Regions from separate parts of the Homo sapiens genome. Here all the other regions are linked to region 1. The links are contacts of gene promoters, found by promoter capture Hi-C in blood cells and fetal thymus (Javierre and others, 2016). All regions are on one chromosome and are shown on one strand. Each heading gives the region's core, a stretch centred on a gene start or on the middle of the fragment in contact. The rest is flanking DNA. Distances are from core to core; before and after follow the strand shown. Region 1 holds the start of KLHL20 (kelch like family member 20). Region 2 holds the start of VAMP4 (vesicle associated membrane protein 4). Region 3 overlaps SUCO (SUN domain containing ossification factor).

The links. The method cuts DNA at HindIII sites, captures the fragments that hold promoters and counts their contacts. A CHiCAGO score of 5 or more calls a contact.
Region 2: a contact is called between the fragment with the promoter of VAMP4 here and the fragment with the promoter of KLHL20 in region 1, in 2 of 17 cell types (naive CD8 T cells and total CD4 T cells). The highest score is 10.2, in naive CD8 T cells.
Region 3: a fragment that was not itself captured here is called in contact with the fragment with the promoter of KLHL20 in region 1 in 2 of 17 cell types (naive CD8 T cells and total CD4 T cells); the score reaches 5.3 in naive CD8 T cells.

Annotation. Positions count from the first base shown.
Region 1 is chr1:173,713,645-173,716,259 of GRCh38, reverse strand. It overlaps KLHL20 (kelch like family member 20), which reads right to left and starts at 1,279. Exons shown (of 12, transcript NM_014458.4): 1 at 1,182-1,279; 2 at 194-257. The coding sequence starts at 216. It also overlaps a transcript of ANKRD45 not described here. RefSeq lists enhancers at 736-1,105, 1,186-1,375. The HindIII fragment of the contact is 9,904 bases long and covers 1-2,615 here.
Region 2 is chr1:171,740,736-171,743,350 of GRCh38, reverse strand. It overlaps VAMP4 (vesicle associated membrane protein 4), which reads left to right and starts at 1,286. Exons shown (of 8, transcript NM_003762.5): 1 at 1,286-1,441. The HindIII fragment of the contact is 4,907 bases long and covers 117-2,615 here.
Region 3 is chr1:172,534,173-172,536,787 of GRCh38, reverse strand. The region is part of intron 1 of SUCO (SUN domain containing ossification factor); the gene reads right to left. Among named protein-coding and RNA genes, the nearest start is that of SUCO, 2.3 kb to the right of the region's middle. The HindIII fragment of the contact is 1,442 bases long and covers 579-2,020 here.

The sequences.
Region 1 (2,615 bases), core at 30-2,529:
TTCAGAAACAACTTCTGTATTTTATTCTATTAAAAAGCTATTAATTCTTAATATTACTTTTGATTTATTGTAGAACAAGACTCATTAGTTCCAAGCAGAATTTAGTAAGATTGAAACTCTTTTTTAAAAATTTAAATTATTACATGCTGAATTTTAATCAGTGAAACCAAAGGTTTTCTTCCTAAATGCCTACCTGCGCATTGGCTTTCCTTCCATGCACCATGAAAAGTACCCTTCACCACACTCTAAAGCCGAACCTAAGACAACAGAAAAGCAGGAACTTAATAAAAGCTATTTCTGATCTTTACAGTAACAATCTTTATATAATCATTTCACTCATTTCGTCAGTTATCAAGAGTTTCATATCCTATTATACCACAGGCCTTCTGCAGATGCACAATAACTTAATCTAGTACATTTAAGATTACCATCCTTACTCTGCATGCTAAAACGATTAAAGTAAAGGTGAGGGAAAGTATGCTAAATAGTCCCGACTGTTAGGTCAGTCTTGTTTCTCTTCAAAAAGTGCTTGGAGATATTTAACTGTGATCTCGACATCAAGTATATTTACAGAACAAGCACCAGATACCCACAGCAGTACTAACCTGATAGATCACATAGGGTACACGAGGCTTTAATAACGAATCTGAAGATTGTTAACTTGTCCCGAAGTGACAGGAGGAGGAGGCGTCTGCATTTGCCTTTACAAACAACTCCGCTTCCGACAGTCCAGGGAGCTTGAACAGGGCAGGGAAAGTATGGCTCCAGACTAACACTCTTTACAAGCATTTCCTTCAGTCCCCGATACAATGTTCACTACCCACGTAGCAGGATTTCGCCAGGTCCCGAGGGTTAAATGGGGGCGCACGTACTTTCTTCCTTCCCTGAATTCCAAACACTGTCTGGGGAAGCTGTCCAGGATGCGAAACCCCAGCACCACCAGGCAGGACAAAGCCCGGGGCCTCCTCTGGCTCCCGAGATAGGCTGTCAGCCAGCGAGAGCGCACTCTGGCGCTCCGCGAGGCCCGGCCCCAGCGCCCCAACAGTCTCTTCTCGGCGCCGACTGACAGGCGACCGACCTGACCCCATGGGGCAGCTCAGCAACTTGGGACCACATATCTGCGAAGCGAGCCCTGGGGCGCTGTCCGCTGTCCCCTGCTCTAAGGTGACTGGCTCACTTACCGGCTCTGACACTTTCTTCTCTGCAGCAGCCTCCTCCGTCTACTCCGCCCTCCACTCCTCTCTGCCTCCTCCTCCACCGCCGCTAACGCAGGCAGGATGCCGCTCGTAGAGCTATTTCCTTTCCCTTCACCGGCCCATATCCAGAAGCAGGAAGTAGTCCTATTCTTAAATCGTTCCCGCAGGAACCCACATAATCCGCCAAGGGGTTCCGGTGCGGCTCCGGAAGTAGTCGTGCCCTTTGCTGGGGCATTCAGGTAACCTCAGAGGTTGTTTATCCTCGTGGGGGTTCCTTGTATCCCAAGAGTAACCATTTTTAGAATTCACTGCGGAACTGGCAGTATTTGAATACTGAAGCCTCCTCTTTTCTTCTTTGTTTTCGCCAGCAAAGGCAGTAAAGGGTAGTCACAGAAAGCTAAGAATTTGTATTTCTTTTTAGTTGGTGGGTCTCCTTTTGGCACAATGTTCCTAATTGTGGATTGAATTATTGCATGCACACATGGGTTGGCATGTATCTGTCAGGCCTCTACTATGTGCAAGGTGCAGAAGTTAGATAGACAGACCAGAGATAGACCTTATCCTCCAGATTTCCCACGGTCAAACTTTCAGGACACCAGGATTTTATCCAGGCTCTAAGGCTGTGTTAGTCTGCCCTTTCTACTTAGTATTCACCACCAGACACTTCACCAAACACATCTTCTGTGGATTCACTTTAATGTTAAGGAGGGAAGAGTATATTTTCTTAAAAAAATTTTTTTTCAGTAGCAAGCAGAGCCAAAAAAGTATATTTTTAAAATTATCTTTTCCTCCAGATTTTCCCATAGCACACAGCCACCTGATTTTTACCGTATATTAATATTTAGAAAACAAGTGATACAAGTGTAAGGTGGGGATTACAATTTCAGGAATATCAGAGAAAGACTGTTGCTGATTTCCTGGTAAGTATACTAGGCTAAGTATTAACCAGATTTTCTTTAGCTGTTCTTTATGTAGAATCTACACAGGTGTGTCCAGTTGTTTCTGAGGGGAAAGGATACCTCTTGTTAATTAGCTTGTAGTGGAAAATACATGGCCTTTAGATCCAGATATAGTGGCCCAGTGGATTCTTCTTGCCTGCTGCCCAGATACAGATGATTTATCAAGGTATAGGGATTGCAATGGAGAAAGAGTTTTACACAACATCGAGTGGAAAAATGGAAGAAGTTTTATTATTACTCAAATCAGTTATATTATTACTCAAATCGGCCTCCTGGAGCATTTGGGGGCTAGGTTTCTTTTCAAAGGTAGTCTGGGGAAAGGGGTAGGGGTGGCTAGGCAATGGGTGCTTGCTGCTGACTGGTGCAGTCATAGGGGTATGGGAGATGGTCCTCCTGCCTACTGAGTTGTTTCTGGGTGGAGCCACAGGAACAGTTGGTGGGTCCAGGTGGAGCCATCAGT
Region 2 (2,615 bases), core at 37-2,536, 2.0 Mb after region 1:
GTTTAGCATTAAGCTTTCAGAACCTTCAACTGACAACTCAACGGCTGTTTCTAAATCTCAGAACATTTAAATCAGAATCTAGGTAGCACGTGGGCACCTACGTAGTTTTAAAAGCTTTCCAAGTGATTCAACTCCAAGTGAATCAGAGTGGAGCATCGTTGCCTTAGTCATGGCATCTTTCAAATTCGTTAGTACATTTTTACATAAAAATAAACATCAAACAAAAGAAGAACAACTTTTTGGTAAGAGGGTGTCTATTCTTTCCTTTCCTTTAGTGTCCGCAGATCTTTCCTCCTGCTGTTTTCTTGTCTACTCTTGTTCTTGAACACCCCCTCTTATTTTTATGTCTTTAGAAAGTGCCTGGCACAGTATTTCAGACAGTTAAAATACTGTATCAACAAAGGACCCATAGATACTGTATTAATTTTAAAAGATGTGTAGTGAATATGATTCAATGAGTAAAATAATCCAGCTGGGGCGTGGGAGGAACGGATAATAAAACAAATAAGAGAACGGAAAAACAAAATTAGGAATTGTTTCTGGTAGACAGCTACTGCGGGCGTGGAGATCTAAACATGATACCAAATTGGGCGGAGGGGGAGGGAGTGAGGAAGGAATGGGCAGAGTGGCGGAATGGCCTGGCGAGGGCGATTTCCTGAAGGCTTTCAGGTTACAACTAAGGGATACCGGGAAAAGAACACCGAGCCCTCGTCCCGTATCTATCTAAACTAGCCGTGTTAACTTTAAGTCAATCTCCTCTCTGAACCAGATATTCCTCCTATCTAAAGGGAGGAGCCTGGCCTTAACATCTCTTTCCAAGTCTAGCTCTAATTCTGTAAACAGGGGATCAAACAGATCTCCTTTCTTCAGAAAAGGCCCCAGACGAACCCGAAGCAGGTCCTCGAGCTGCGAGCCACTCTCCACTTGCCACTCAACGTAGTCAGCCAGAGGGACGGATGTGCCACCAAGCACCACCTTCTTTCTAACGCCTCATCACCCCAGCCACGCACTCCGGCGCGGCGCCCAGTCCCGAGCGGTTCTCGGAAGTTTCCCACTCCTCCCCTAATCGCCCTCCACGCACGCCGGATCACGACCGGAACGTGGACAACCAGTGGTTGTTCCTCCCCTAAAGCACAGCATAAATTTGGAGAGATGCATCTAAACTGCGTGTGGGTTCGGGCTCTTTTAGGTGAATAGGGCTCGGCGGATCGACTTCCTCGATTATCTCCGTGCCCTGGACCCGCCCCCTCCGCCTGGCGCCAGGCCGCCGAGCGCCGATCGGCTCGATGAGCGGAGGCGCTGCTGCGGCGCTGCGGCCGACGCCGGGTCCGCACCAACTGTCTCCCCCTCCCAGCTTCTTACCTCGGCTTCCTACTCCTTCCCCCGCCCGCCCAGCACCGCCAGCCCGGGAGAGCTGCCGGGAGTTCCCCGGGAGCCTCAGGTACTGGCGCTGGCCTGTTCGCAGCGGGAGGGGCTGGTGTGAGGAGGAAGGAAACGAAGAAGACGCCCCTGCCTTGCCGCCCCCCGACGTCCTAGTCGGGCTGGTCGGCGGGCCTCGGGGATCTAGGAAGGGACCCCGGAGTGGGAAAAGGTTGGGGCCGGGGGTGCCGTGAGGAAGGAAGACGAGGACAGGGGTATGCGGACGAGGAGCAGTTGAGGGAGAGAAGAATTGGAATTGAGGGGTACTCTGGGGTGATGGGAAGAGAACAGTACCATGGATGGGGAAGGTTTGTTAAGAGTGGGATGTAGTGAGGAATTCCAGGGGGTACAATGGGGCAGGAAGGGCCAGCGTTAGGAGCAGATATATCGTGGGACGTGGCCTGGTGTGACAGATTGGGTGTGGGGGGTGAACGGAGCTGCCTGAAATTGTGTATTTAAAGGGCCCGGGGGAAAGAGCGCCAACCCTGCTGTGTTTATAATGACCGGAAGGTGGGGGTGAATCGTTACACTTGACAGGTTTTGCAAATAATATCTCCGGTCTGTGTCCATCCAAGTCACTTTATTTCTGTGAAACTGCATCAAGCAAGAAGGCTGATGACAGACAAGGAAGACGAATCAGAAAGAGAATGGAGGCTGGGAAAAGGAGAGCCTTTGCCCAGATTCAAAGCTATTGACTAGATAACGTACTACTTACAAAAACGCACACATAGACATTTAAGTATATGCTGATGTATAAGAAGCATACGGTGATGTGACTCATTTGAGTGAATTGTATAGTGGTGGTCTATCCTCAATGTGGAAGTACATGATGGCTCTCTTATTTACATGTATACCTAGTCACAAACAGCTGAATTCACATGTCTTTTTTTGTAGGAGAAATCTTAGGCAGACTATATCCTAGTCTACTTTCTGAGCATGATTTATTTCTACTAGTTGTTTGATACACATATCAGTTACTAATAATCAGTTGCAAATAACATCAAAGTTCATCAAGGTAGCTAATTAATCTGCCTACTGCTTTGCTGATGGGCTATTTGTTGCACATGGTTTCTTGGGATTAAGAGACCTGAATATGGTGTTTGCTCATCCTTAAGATTGTAGTTTTACTGTATGTCTTATAAAGGCATTATATAAGTCTGCCCGTTGTTTGCTTTGGGATGTTGAGGCAGCCTCAT
Region 3 (2,615 bases), core at 50-2,549, 1.2 Mb after region 1:
AAGATTCTCCCCTCAGAGCCTCCAAAAAGAACGAGCCCAGTTGACATCTTAACTTTATTTAGCCCTGTGAGACATATCTTGGACTTCTCATCCACAGAATTGTAAGGTAATAAATGTGTGTTGTTCAAGCCACTAAATTTGTGTCAATTTGCTACAGCAGGCATAAGAAACTAATGCAGGGAATTCCTAGGTTATGCGACTTCCAGTGTTAAAACCAAGACAAGCTGGTGACCCTCTATCTTGGATTTTCGGTGCTCATAAAAACATCTGGCACAGTAGGTATGAGAACAAAATGTGGTTGAATAATGTTATGATGAAATATTTACATAATACGCTGTTACTGTGTTACAAAGATCTGTCATTTGTATTATTTCATCCTCCTAACAACCCTGTGAAGTATGAATGGATCAATTTCCCCATTCTGAGGATATAACAACTAAGGTTCAAAGAAGTTACATAACAAGTCAAAGAACACATATCTAGTAAATGATGGAGCCACATATATAAAATACAGGCCTCTGACCTATAAAGTACTCAGGAGCCTGTGCTGCCTAGGTTCAAATTTAAGCTCCGAAGCTTAACAGCTGCTTAAACTTAGCCAAGTTAACCTCTCTACTTCCTCACATGTAAAATGCAAAAGGAAGTTAATAATAATACCTATCTTATAGGGTTCTTATAAAGATTAAAGGTGTTATTGTCAAGTAAACATCATGTGTCTGACACACAGCTGTCAGCAAATATTAGCTATCATTGCTCTGTGCTGCAGCTATAGTGCATTTATGCCTAGAATACTCTATACTACTTGATCAAAAATTATAAACTATGCAAAAGGAAAAAACAGCAACAAAAATTAATAATGACATAGATGAAATGGTTTTTCTGTAAACATAATCTAAGGTTAGTACTCAAGGCTACAAGACAAAAGCAGAGGGGAGACATAATCAAGATCTACAAAATTATGATAGTAAACATAACACAGTAATATTGGTAGCATGAGAGGGGAAACCTCAGAAACTAGAATACTGTAGAACAGACATACAGCACTCAATGTACAAAACAGAAACGGATCACAAAATTTTGAGACAATTTGTGAATAACAAAAGAGACAAAAGTGGCTACTAAAAGGCACTCATCAACTCTTGCAAACGTTTTATCTAACCCTAGGACTTGTTGGTAGCCATTTCTGTTAAAGGGAATGAGGTTGTTGGGAAAAGAAATACCACACCAGATTGCAGCAAAAGTTAGAAATCCATTAAGTGCCATTAATTCCAACTTGGCACAAAAGCAGAGGCTTCAAAGAAAAAACATACCCTTTGCCAATCAGCACCAGGTACCACTCCTCTTCCCCAATCTCATTCATCATCATCACCCTTTAAAAAACCCTTTAAGCCTTAATGTCCTATTTTAATGCCTTTTAATCGTTTTGCTAAAGAATAATTAAAATGTCTCTAAATTTGGCAGTCTAAACAAATCTCAAAATATACTAACCCAATAGTTTCTTAAGCTAAAGTTTCTTAAAATGTTCACACTCTTAAACTCTCCACATCCATTTTCCTCACTAGGAGTTAAAAAACTTGACAGAAGTTTATTACTACTACTTTCAATACCAGGCCAACCGATTTGTTCCCTAACAGGGAAATTCATTAGCTCTTCACTAGAGCTAATGATTGAAGGTGAGAAAACATACTGAGGGTTAGCTTAATCAAAAGATAGCCAGAAATTCCCAAAAGAAATAGAAGCAGAGTTAACTTAAATTTACAAATGATTGTAAGAATCACATTCTATTGCTTGATTTCGTTTACACCATCCAATTAAAAAATTAAAAAAAGCCAGAGATACTGGTGTGTTTTTAAACTTGAATGAAAGTGTTCACCTTTTCCTTATTAGCCATTTCAGAAACTTTTGATGATGAATAACATGGTTTAAAGATGGGCAAGACCAAGAAGAAAGAGGAAAGAAAATACACAGTCTACAAATATAACTAGGCAGCCCCAGAAAGAGATGGAAATGAATACAAGCTTCAGTATCTACAAATTTAAATTTAAAATGAGGTGAGTGGATTTATCTCTTACAGGCACTTCTCCGTACCCAACACAGTAAGTAGAAAGGGGAGGATTTTATTAAAAACAGGAGACGGGTATTAAAAGGATTCAGAATGAAAGGTAATAAGTCAATTGTTTTTGTTCTCAAAAACTTCTATCATTCTTCCAATAAAAATCCCTCAGCCAGGCGAGTGTTTTCTCTTCCCCTTGTTTATGTATTATTTTATGTGAGCAACAACTCTACAATTTCAGTGCTTCTGGAATCCATAAGGCATCCATAAAAATGAAAATAGTGTTGGTGCTTTGCAGAAATAAGCAAAACAGGAAACTTAATTTCTATTTTAATATAACAAACAGCAAATCGCCTAGACTGAAGAAGCATCTTTTCAGTCATCAATTGTCACACATCTTTGAAGAAATTCCCTGGGAGGAAAGAATGGCTTTTCCAAGTACGGTGACAGCAGTCCCTCGACTTACAAGCTTTCTCTGCTCCTCAAAAAACTCCAGAAGTGCCTGGGATTAACAGAAACTCCGTAAAACTTAAGGAGTGCTTTAGGGACAAAGCACTCTTCC